Regions from separate parts of the Homo sapiens genome. Here all the other regions are linked to region 2. Evidence: promoter capture Hi-C in 16 types of primary human blood cells and fetal thymus (Javierre and others, 2016). All regions are on one chromosome and are shown on one strand. Each heading gives the region's core, a stretch centred on a gene start or on the middle of the fragment in contact. The rest is flanking DNA. Distances are from core to core; before and after follow the strand shown. Region 1 overlaps MTHFD2L (methylenetetrahydrofolate dehydrogenase (NADP+ dependent) 2 like). Region 2 holds the start of COX18 (cytochrome c oxidase assembly factor COX18). Region 3 holds the start of EPGN (epithelial mitogen). Region 4 has its middle 7.9 kb from the start of MTHFD2L.

The links. The method cuts DNA at HindIII sites, captures the fragments that hold promoters and counts their contacts. A CHiCAGO score of 5 or more calls a contact.
Region 1: a fragment that was not itself captured here is called in contact with the fragment with the promoter of COX18 in region 2 in 3 of 17 cell types (total B cells, monocytes and fetal thymus); the score reaches 7.5 in total B cells.
Region 3: the fragment with the promoter of EPGN here is called in contact with the fragment with the promoter of COX18 in region 2 in 1 of 17 cell types (total CD4 T cells); the score reaches 6.2 in total CD4 T cells.
Region 4: a fragment that was not itself captured here is called in contact with the fragment with the promoter of COX18 in region 2 in 1 of 17 cell types (fetal thymus); the score reaches 6.2 in fetal thymus.

The regions. Positions count from the first base shown.
Region 1 is chr4:74,169,239-74,172,035 of GRCh38, forward strand. All of the region lies in intron 1 of MTHFD2L (methylenetetrahydrofolate dehydrogenase (NADP+ dependent) 2 like), which reads left to right. Among named protein-coding and RNA genes, the nearest start is that of MTHFD2L, 13 kb to the left of the region's middle. The HindIII fragment of the contact is 8,326 bases long and covers 1-2,797 here.
Region 2 is chr4:73,068,356-73,071,055 of GRCh38, forward strand. COX18 (cytochrome c oxidase assembly factor COX18) reads right to left here and starts at 1,361. Exons shown (of 6, transcript NM_001297732.2): 1 at 962-1,361. The coding sequence starts at 1,294. LOC112268467 (a long non-coding RNA gene) reads left to right here and starts at 1,591. Exons shown (of 2, transcript XR_002959797.2): 1 at 1,591-1,674. RefSeq lists enhancers at 680-1,195, 1,130-1,649, 1,196-1,712. The HindIII fragment of the contact is 3,732 bases long and covers 1-2,103 here.
Region 3 is chr4:74,306,954-74,309,892 of GRCh38, forward strand. EPGN (epithelial mitogen) reads left to right here and starts at 1,517. Exons shown (of 5, transcript NM_001270989.2): 1 at 1,517-1,623; 2 at 2,140-2,229. The coding sequence starts at 1,581. The region is part of intron 2 of LOC105377276 (a long non-coding RNA gene); the gene reads right to left. The HindIII fragment of the contact is 2,238 bases long and covers 359-2,596 here.
Region 4 is chr4:74,148,834-74,151,685 of GRCh38, forward strand. It overlaps a transcript of MTHFD2L not described here. Among named protein-coding and RNA genes, the nearest start is that of MTHFD2L, 7.9 kb to the right of the region's middle. The HindIII fragment of the contact is 4,121 bases long and covers 1-2,852 here.

The sequences.
Region 1 (2,797 bases), core at 180-2,679, 1.1 Mb after region 2:
AGTATGCACGGTACAGTTAAGTTTAATCTGTATACAGGTTGTCTCTTTGGAGTCTGGGAATCAGTTTATGCTATTGGTCTTCTCTGACAATCTCCAGGTCACGCAGATTTGTACTGTCTAGGACATAATTAGCCTAGATTATACTCAGTGATTGCCAGCTTCACAGTGGCCTGTGAACAAATTATTTTGTTTAATGTGAGTGAATCAATAATGTGTCAGCAGTAGCATCACTACTCACATGCTATAAAATGCAAGACAGAGTTCAGATGTTTTTATATTTTAAAATAGAATGTATATTCCTTACTGTGTTAGGTGATTACTAGTTTTTTTAACAGATGAATCTGCTTCTATAATAGTGTTCTACCCCAAGAAAATATTGCTGACACAAATTGATTTATGGAAAGTTTTATTTGCTACTACCTATAAATGAGTTGTGCTGGAATTTGTTGCTGTATCTGCAGTTCTTAGTATTTGCTAATATAAAAGATCCTTGTTATCTTAGTGCCAAAAGGCTACTTAAATGAATTCATAAAATATCCTTACCAGAAATTCATAGGAAACAGTGAAAAAAGTTTGTTACTTTACTTTGAAAAATAAAAACCTCAAAAGTTTTATTTTATTTTAACTTGATTTGCTTATAATTACATACAAAGTATTGGAAGGTACAAAGCACAAGCTACAAAAATCACTCAAGAAATATTAGATAACCTGAATTGCCCTCTATATTAAGGAATTTAAGTTTGTAGGTTTAAACCTTCCCAGAAAGAAAACCCCAGAATCAGATAGCTTCATGGGTGAATCCTACCAAACATTTAAGCGAGAAAAAAATGCCAATTCTTTACACACTCTTCCGGAAATTTGAAGAGGATAGAATTCTTCCTAACTCATTCTATGAAGCTAGCATCATCCTGGTATCAAAGCTACATGATAACATTATAAGAAAAGAAAACTACAAACACCTCTTATGCATGTAGATGCAACAATTTTAACAAAATTTCAGATGAAATCCATGATAGTCTGGAAAGGATAGATACATAATAACCAACTGGGATGTATCCCAGGAATGCAAGTTTGATTTAACATTTGAAAATTGATCAGTTACCATATTAACAGACTAACACTCGAGAAAAACATATGATCATCTCAATAGACATAAAAAACACTTGGCAGTAGCCTCATACAAATTCTCACCAAACTAAAAATAGACATAAATCATAAACTGAATGTATAACTTAGGCCCATAAAACATCTAGAAGAAAACGCTGGAGAAAACCTTTGTGACCTTGAATTAGGCAAAGATTTCTTTTATACAACACTAAAAGCATGGTCCATAAAAGGAAAAAATAATAAATTGGAGTACATTAAAATTAAGAACTGTTCTAAAAACATGAGAATAAAAAGGCAAAGCACAGACTGGGAGACAATATTTCAAACCCCATATCTGATAAAGGACATGAATCTAGGATACACAAAGAACTTTAAAAAAACCCAAATGTCCAACAACGAAAGACTGGATTAAGAAAATGTAGCACATATACACCATGGGCTACTATGCAGCCATAAAAAATGATGAGTTCATGTCCTTTGTAGGGACATGGATGAAACTGGAAACCATCATTCTCAGCAAACTATCGCAAGGACAAAAAACCAAACACTGCATGTTCTCACTCATAGGTGGGAATTGAACAATAAGAACACATGCACACAGGAAGGGGAACATCACACTTCGGGGACTGTTGTGGGGTGGGGGGAGGGGGGAGGGATAGCATTAGGAGATATACCTAATGCTAAATGACAAGTTAATGGGTGGAGCACACCAACATGGCACATGTATACATATGTAATAAACCTGCACATTGTGCACATGTACCCTAAAACTTAAAGTATAATAATAATAAAATTAAAAAAATTCAAAATAGGAAACAACCTACTAAACAATGGGCAAAAGACTTAATTATTTAATTCACTAAAGAAGATCACAGATGGCAAATAAGCATATGAAAAGATGTTCAACATCAGTATTCGTTAAGGGAATGCAAATTTAAAGCACAGTGACATACCACCATATGTCCACTAAAATGTCAACAGTTTTAAAACCTGACCATCTGAAGTGATGACAAGTATATGGAGCAACCAGAACTCATATAGTGTTTGAAGGAATGCAAAGTTGCAAAGTGGTACAGTGTTTTTGTAACGTAACAGTTTTTAACGTATTTAAACATACACTTACGATGTGACCTAGCCATTCCCCTTTGAGATATTTGCTCAAAAGAAATTAAAGCGGCCAGGAGTGGTGGCTCACACCTGTAGTCCCAGCATTTTGGGAGGCCAAGAGGGGCAGATCACTTGCAGCCAGGAGTTCGAGACCAGCCTGGCCAACATAGCGAAACCCCGTCTCTACTAAATATACAAAAATTAGTCAGGCATGGTGGCATATGTCTGTAATTCCAGCTACTCTGGAGGCTGAGGCATCAGAATCATTTGAACCCAGGAGGCGGAGGTTGTAGTGAGCCGAGATCTTGCCACTGAACTGCAGCCTGGGTGATGGAGACCCTGTCCCCCACAAAAAAAATATTTTAAAGCATATGTGTACAAAATATATTAAAGCATATGTGTTATAAAATGTTTGTAACAGCTGTATTTGTCATGATCAAAAACTGGAAAGAACCCGAATATCCATTAATTACAATCGAATGGATAAACAAATATTGGTATATCCATACAATGTAATACTACTCAGCAATAAAAAAGAAATGAACCATTCAAACATGCAACTATGTGAATCAATTAAAAAATA
Region 2 (2,700 bases), core at 111-2,610:
CTAAAATCATGTTCCCTCACATATAAAATATATAACAGCACCTACTTCACAGGGTTACAAATATTAGATAAGAACTGCACCCTGGGCTTTACTGTTCCATCTCTACATTTCCTAGTAACGTAAGCGGAGAAAACAGCAGTTTGTTAAGAACCTTTAATACACTGTGATAGCCACAAATCAAAAGTAAAAATAGCATTTATTCCTGCCCTGTGCTCATTCTTCCTGTAAAATGGCTCACTGCCTTAATGTTGCTGCTGATTCCGTTCCTGTTTTGTTTCCGGTTTTTTTTCCCCATGCTCACAACCTGAAAACAAGAAAGCCACTATTTTTGAAATATCCCATTTGAATAATCAAGCACTTTAACCCGTATTATCTGACTTGCTCTGATAACGCTGTGAAGTAGGCAAGGAAGGTACTGCTAGCCTGATTCCTCAGAAAAAAGGATTCAGCATTAAAAGGTCAAGTAACTGCGACCAACCAGACACAGTCTTAGTCGGGTCTGGAGAGGAAACAAGTTCGCAAACTGTTAGTCTAGTAGTTTCTTCCTAATAAGAAAGACCAGCTGGAATACTTTGGGACGAAAGACACTGCAGACATACTGGCTATTAAAACTTTTAAGACATAAATTTTGTAGGTTTCGCCAACACAATTTCTTCTGCGACTGATTTCTTTGTCTCCGTTCCCCGAGAGCAAGTATAGTAACCACTTGTGCTTGGAGCACAAATCCAGTAAGACAAAAGAAATGACAGGTACACGTGTCACAAAGTATCTTATTTAACACACCTAATGCTAGTTCAATTTTTTTTAACGCTAAAATGGTCACAATGAAATGGTCACGATGATTAAACACTAAGCACTGCAGAAGGCAACATCGTGCGATCGAAAACCCTGAGTGAATGTCGGCCTTCCTCCGCCGCAGGGGTTGCAGCGCAGGGTACGCGCACGGCTCGGCGCCCCTCACCTTGGCCAGGATGTAGTGCTGGTAGGCTGCCAAAGGCAGCGTGACAGCACCCCGTAAGGCCACGGTGGAGAGCAGAATGCTGCCCCACCAGGGCAGGCCCGTGGCGGCGTGCACGCCGAGCAGTACTTCCTCCGCAACCCGCACCGGCGAAGACGCGGCCAGGGCCTCGTACCAGCCGTTCGCATGTACTGCAGAGACTGGTGCCACTGCCCACACTGGGAGAGTGGGGCGCTTGGCGCCGCTCGTAGGAACCGGCGCAAGCGGCAGGTCCCTAGCCCAAAGCTGCAGGGCAGGGAGCGGCCGCAGCCACCGACCGCCGAGCCGGCACAGCATTTCTGCACCACGGCGGAGCCCAGATCCCGGGCCTCACAATCCAGCGGACATACACCGGCCAGCCAAGGCTGATACGCGCACGCGCCAGCAACAGCGGGCATAAAGCGCATGCGCGCCTGCCTGCAGCCGCGATTGACCTTCCCAGTCAAGCCGGTGACGTCTTGCGTCGCAGTGGATGTGACGCAAGAGATAGGAAAGTCCCGCCTTTCCCACGCGGCACTGGACAGGCCTACTGCGCACACGCGAAAGTTTCCCGCTGCTAGGGTGTAGTTAGTCCGAGGCCGGACCAAAACTGCAGAGACATGGGTGGAGCCTGCTGCCCTCCGCCAGGCTGGGTGTTCTTTAGGGAGCTCTCGCCTTGTAAAGTTCATCTACACCGTGTAACTTACCATTCTTTTTCACTAAAGCTAATAGTCATTTGTAGTGGAATTATCCTTGCTCGGTTTTTTGTGACCAGAAGCTGATCCCCAACCTCTTTACGTGCACCTGATTGCTTCCGTTAGCGATTACGATAGATTATCATACTCAAGAGTCACACGTTGCTAAAGTACCTGCTTGTAGAGAGACGCATGTTTCTTGCTGACTCTGAGTGTTAAGCACGAGGGATAGTTCAGTCTCTTGTAGATTTAATTGGCCCATCTGTTCCAGTTAGTATTTGGACCACCAACTGCAAACTGAATTTCTTCGGTGTTTTGTCTTCCATGATAAATAGCAGCAAAAATCTTATAGTAAAAGTATCATCTCTTTATTTAAGGGAAACTATCACTGGCAGTACGGTGAATTCCTTGAGTTTACTTGTATCCTATATAAGCTTTAAAGAGCCTGAACAGCAGCACTGGCTGTCTTCTGGTTTAAAGGAATACGTTGAATCTACATGGACTATATAGTTTTAACTTTTGTGTTCCTGGAAACAACAAAATGGAATGTTGTGGAGGAGTTTCCTCACCGAAGGGTCACCCCTAGACTACAGACTAAAATATGTTGTGAGGAGTAAACCTTGATTTTTATTTATTTATTTATTTACTTACTTAGGAAAAGAAGCCTCCAACAATGTTGGGTAATGTCAAACGCCAGCTATTGTTTGCCCTTCACTGTGCACCTAACCAAGGGTACCCTACGATAACTTTCTCAGGATTCTGGAATTCATCTGCTTTCCAAACTGACTGATAAATCTATACATGAATTTTTAAATGTGTTTAAACACACAGCACAACACACACTATATATAAACTTTTTCTAAAAGAAAAACCTACCAATCTATTTCTTTATCCATTTATTAAGCTAACAAAAAAGCCATCAGTTGCTACTGACTACTGTTCAGCTGTTCATAATCTGAACAGAATTTTAAAGTTATTTTTGCTAGACACAGTGGATCACGCCTGTAATCCCAGCACTTTGGGAGGCCA
Region 3 (2,939 bases), core at 267-2,766, 1.2 Mb after region 2:
GTGAGAAAACATCTCAAAAAAAAAAAAAAAGAAAGTATTTAATATGAGTCCTAACATCTCCCTCCAGAAACTACAAAAAGAATTGTGATGGTTTATTTAATCTTTTGTAAATGATTTCTTTTTAAATTCTCAGCAATGGTGCAAAGACGATTGTTCAATTTATAATTCAAATGTTATTTGCCTGGGAAATATATTATCTAGAAATCGACTTAGTAATCAACAGTTTTTTAAAAACCTACAAAAGTAGAAATGCAAAATGTAGACACATTTAAAGCGAGCCAAGTACTATTATATTATTTTAACTTTAAAATGATGACTCCTGTGGCAAGTGATTGCCCAAGTTATAATGAGTTCAACAAGCTTGTTCTTGTGTGATTTCTAACACCACATTTATATTTGAATAGTGAAAGGGCTCCTTTCTGGTAAATCTAATTTGCTGAGTGGACATGATGCAAAAGATAACCTATCTTGACTTGAATATGTTTTTAGGGTTTTGAGGTTTCAAGTTTCAAGAAAATACAAGGAATTGAAATTCCAGACAGAAAGACTCAATGCCTCAGGAAGATATATTTATAAATCATTTATATTAATTTGGGGCAAGTGAAAATTTCTGTAGTTGTAAAATATAGTAGCTGTAATGACATATTTTGGCCTTTAAAGTGCCACTTTAATAATTACAACTAGATGAACTTGAGAAATAATTTGAATGTTGTATTAACTTAGAAACTTTCTATTCATTGGATGTATCCAAACTAAATGTCATCTTAATTTTCTCTTAATGGAGAATTTTAATATTATTATTATTGCTATTATCATTATGTTGGTACTTTACTGGTTCTCTGTAGCTTAATCATTGGGATGCAGATTTAAGCATTGTTGTTCCTGGAATATGGCAGCCCATTTCATTTACTCAGAAAAATGTTAAATAGCAGGATGACAGAAAGGTGAATATTATACTATTAAAAATAATTTTATTTACAGCACTTGTCATAGTAACACTAAGAAACAAACACTAAAATGGAATATGAAACCTCTGTGTTTTCACAAATTTAACTGTTCTCTGCAACTAAATTAACAAATTATCTTGATTTGAAATGGAACTTATAGTCTGTAATAAAAGGTGGTATAACCAACTATAGTTTCAGGTATATTTCTTTTAGAAACAGGTTATGCTGCTTCCTAATTTGCAGTTATGTTTGTTGAACTCCCGTATAGGTTTCTAGCATAGTTTGAGCTGGTATAGTTCTCTTCACACCAATGGGAGCCTTTCCTGAAATTACATTTTGTTCTTGTTGTTTTAAGTACTTTTACATACATGATTATGCCCACAGGTAACAGGAAACCAGTGTTTCAAAAGAAAACTTGATCACATTGCTAGATAATACAGGTATCCTAACCAAGTGCGTGAGCGCCCAGAGGCTTTCTGCTGCTGCCAGAAGTACATATTTTTTTGATTGGTAAGAACTGCCAGATGACGCTTCATGAAATATAAATGCAACAAAGACTCAGAGAGCTCAATAAAAACCTTCCACCCGTCAGTCTAGAAGGATAAGAGAAAGAAAGTTAAGCAACTACAGGAAATGGCTTTGGGAGTTCCAATATCAGTCTATCTTTTATTCAACGGTAGGTAATTTCCTTTTGTTTTGTTAACTTTATATCAGTGTAAAATGTGAATAGAATTTATTTTCTCTGCATTAGAGAGAAGTTGGCTTCTAACAGTTGTTCTTTATGACAAAGATCAGAGTAATGAATCTGTGGATTAATTTAGTTTCTTATGTCCTGTATGTTCCTTTCCTAATATATTTTGACACCTTTTTTGAGACCTCCAGAATGTTTGCTTTATACAATTGAAGAGTAATTGATACATTTAGCTACTATACTATAGGGTTCTTATTTTTTAATTAATATGTAAATGTATCAATGGTCTTAAATATTGGGTTTTTATTTGCTTTAATCCTAATATAGTCAATGGAATGGATGAGAAACTGTAAGTATGTTGCCCTAGTCACGTTATGGATTTCAACTGTAATAAATTAAAAAAATAGAAATTGGAATAAACAGAATAAGAATACTTTCCATCTGTTGCTTGTACATAGAAGGAGGCTCTCTGTTAAAGATGCTTTTGCCCCCTTAATACAGCAATGACAGCACTGACCGAAGAGGCAGCCGTGACTGTAACACCTCCAATCACAGCCCAGCAAGGTAACTGGACAGTTAACAAAACAGAAGGTATTTTCTTCCCATTTTCATATTTCACAAGACTTTTCTAAAACTTGGGAGAGAAATTTGGATTGTGATAAAAGCAATATTGGCCATTTTTAATATATATTTTATTATTAGATAATCAGCTCTTTTAGCAGGATGCTGTTAAATTGAAGTGACAGATAAATGTGCCAGGAAATAATTGCCTTTTTAAAAGGAGGAAGTTAAGCAAATGAGACAAAAGCTGTCTTCAGTTACTGTCTTGAATGTGAAACAGGCCACATTTTCTGCTTCATTTCTGCTTGGTTCCCAATAACCCCTGTGTGTACAGAGACAGTTTGTCCCCATTTTGGCATTCTTGATGAGCAGCATTATATTTTGATCTGTGATTATAAGCTTTGATGCCAAAGACATTATGGCTACAAGATGAACAGCACTTTCCCTCATCTTTGGAATGACCTTTTTTTCTTGTTTGCTTTGGAGTTTTTGTTGTTATTTTAGCATATGCTGTATTTCCTAACCACTTGTACCCAATTTTTGTTGTTGATGGTAATGATATATTTTCTTTTGCACTTAATTATTATCACAGTGGCTTCTGGATGCTCTTGAGCATCAGCGTTCTTTCTCTAATCTGTTTAAACTCTTAGAGGTGAAACTTGGAAAGCTTGTTGCTTACCAAGACCTGTGACTGAGTGGTTATGATTCTTCTGCAAATCGCATCCTGATTGCTATGTGAA
Region 4 (2,852 bases), core at 158-2,657, 1.1 Mb after region 2:
CTGGCTTGTTTACATTTAGATTTATCCCATTGCCTTTCCCTTACTTAGTCTTTTCTGTATCCCAAAAGGCTATATTTCTTAGGCCCCTTTGCTTTTTGGTTTCCAGGTAGGTTTGACCAATGGGAAACAATAGCCAAATTTTGGAGTGTGAGAGAAGGGGAAACCCAGTGTATTTTTCTTCTTATCTTTCTGCTGTCTCCCTTGTGGACATAGCTTCCTCTGATCAATCATTGCTTAGATAGTTCCAGGTCCTGCAAGGAAGACTTTGCCATGATTCCAGCTCTCATTAGATAGTTTTATCTTCTCAATTCTGATAGTGCCACTTGCTCCATCCAGTTGTCTCTCCAGATTTAGCAGTTTCAGTGGTTTCCTGCTGTTGGGTTATTTTGTATCCTTTTTGGCTTCTAAGTTCTTCCATTATCTACTTAATTAAATCCCTATATTAAATTTCCTTTATTTGAAATACCTACAGTGTTTTCTGTTTCCTCCTAGATTCTGCCTAATACAAACTCAGACATCTGTTAATAGGCTGCTGAAAAACTAAATGCCCCTATTTAATAATATTTAGCAGAAAAAAATGAATGAATTATAGCTACATGCAACAAAATAAATATGTTTTGGAAACACGGAGTAAAAGGGAAAAAGCAAGTGCTTGAAGACTGCATCCAGCTCAATATCATATGTTAAACTCAAATAACAAAACAAAAACCAAGGAAGACTGAGCATTATGTTGTTAAAAGATGTATTTGTGATTAAATTATTTTTAAATCAAAACGATTAAACTACAAAATTCAAGACAATGATTACCTCTGATAAAAAATTTGGGATATGAAAGAAGCACCTAGATTTATTCATTGATATCAGAAAGGTTCTAATTCCCACGTTGTGTGGTAGGTTCAGGAATATTCTTCTTGTTGTTATGCTTCATAATTTGCAAGGGTGTTATGTGTTGTGGTAGGTAGAAGAGTGCTCCCCCCAAAAAATGTTTATATCCTAGGTTTCAAAACTTGTGAATATATCACCTTACATGGCAAATGGTACTATTACAGATGTGATTATGGTTTGTAACTTTGAGATATGGATATTATCTTGAATTAACCTAGTGGGCTCAATCAAATCATGAGGCCTTTAGAATAGAGACCCTCCCCTGGCTGTAGTAAGTAAAAGAGAGAGACAGAGAAAGAGAGAGAAATAATGGAAGAAGAGTAAGAGAGGGATTTCGACATTCTTGGCTTTGAAGATGGGGGAAGGGTGCCAACAAGCCAAAGAAAGTGGGTAGGTTGTCTACAGAACACGCAAAAAGGAAGGAGATGGATTCTCCTTAGAGCCTCCAGAAGGAATACAACCCTAATTGACTATAGCCCTGTGAGACTCACACCAGACTTCTATCTTAAAGAAATGTAACACCATAAGTTTTTGTTGTTGTTGTTTGTTTTTGAGACAGAGTTTTGCTCTTTTTGCCCAGGCTGGAGTGCAATGGTGCGATCTCAGCTCACTGCAACTTCCACTTCCCAGGTTCAAGCGATTCTCCTGCCTTAGCCTCCTGAGTAGCTGGGATTACAGGCATGCGCCACCATGCCCAGCTAATTTTGTATTTTTTAGTAGAGACGGTGTTTCTCTATGTTGGTCAGGCTGGTCTCAAACTGCCGACCTCGGGTGATCCGCCCGCCTAGGCTTCCCAAAGTCCTGGGATTACAGGCGTAAGCCACCGTGCCTGGCCAAGTTTGTATTATTTAAACCACTAAATTTGTGATAATTTATTATAGCAGCAATCAAAAGCCAATGCATATATATTATTTGCATATTATTTTCTGCTCCAAACATTATCCCATAACTTAAAAAAATTAACATATGTTGTTTTAAATGACACACATCAAAACAAAGTGAAACAAAATTTAAATGTAAAAAGATACAGGTATACATGTGTATATGTATACGTGTGTGTGTGTATATATATATAAATATATACATGTGACACTTTTCATATTAAAACTAAACAAGGATAGGAGTAGCAATGTCTAACAATTACCATGGAAAACAAGAAGGCTTAACAAAATAAAGAAGGCCATTATATAATGATAATAGATAAACTATATGGAATCTGTAATAATCATTATCCCATATTCACTGATGAAATAATGCTATAATATGTAGTAAAAAATAAAGAAAAATTGGGTTCTTTACATCATTCTTAGTCTTTAAAAAGTTGAACAGAGGAATTAGAAAAAAGACAATCATTGTAACATTGGTTATATATTGACATGTATATAGATATATACAGTATATATAGTTAACATTATATTCTAAACCAGGTGCACTTTTTATACAGTTAATGGTATTATAAGACCACAAATAAACTATCAATAAGTTATTAAAATATGAAACTGGTAGTCACATTAATTATCATGAAATAAAACTTGGTAATCAATTTTTCAATAGAATCCACCATTCATTGGAAAATTAAAAATTATTTTCTCCTTATTACACAGATTCAAATCAAAAATCAATTTTATAGTTACAGAAGATTGTATAAATGACTAAAATGCAGACATTGGGATGAGTTCTCTGTACCTTAGCGATGTAGCATGCAAACTTTTCCAGGAGAACCTTAGATTTAGAAAAGCACTGCAGTTAGAAGTGTGGGCACTGGTTTCACACTACCTGAGACTTGAACTCCACTTTCATCACTTGATAGCTGTAGGTCTTGGCAAGTTATCTAGCCTATTTTACCTGTTTCCTCATAGCTTCATTGTGGTAAGGGTTAAAAGAATAACTTCTGAAAAGTGTTCAGCACAGCCTTGGCACATAGCAAATTCAGGGAAACATATGCTGTTATTATTATATTAAATCTT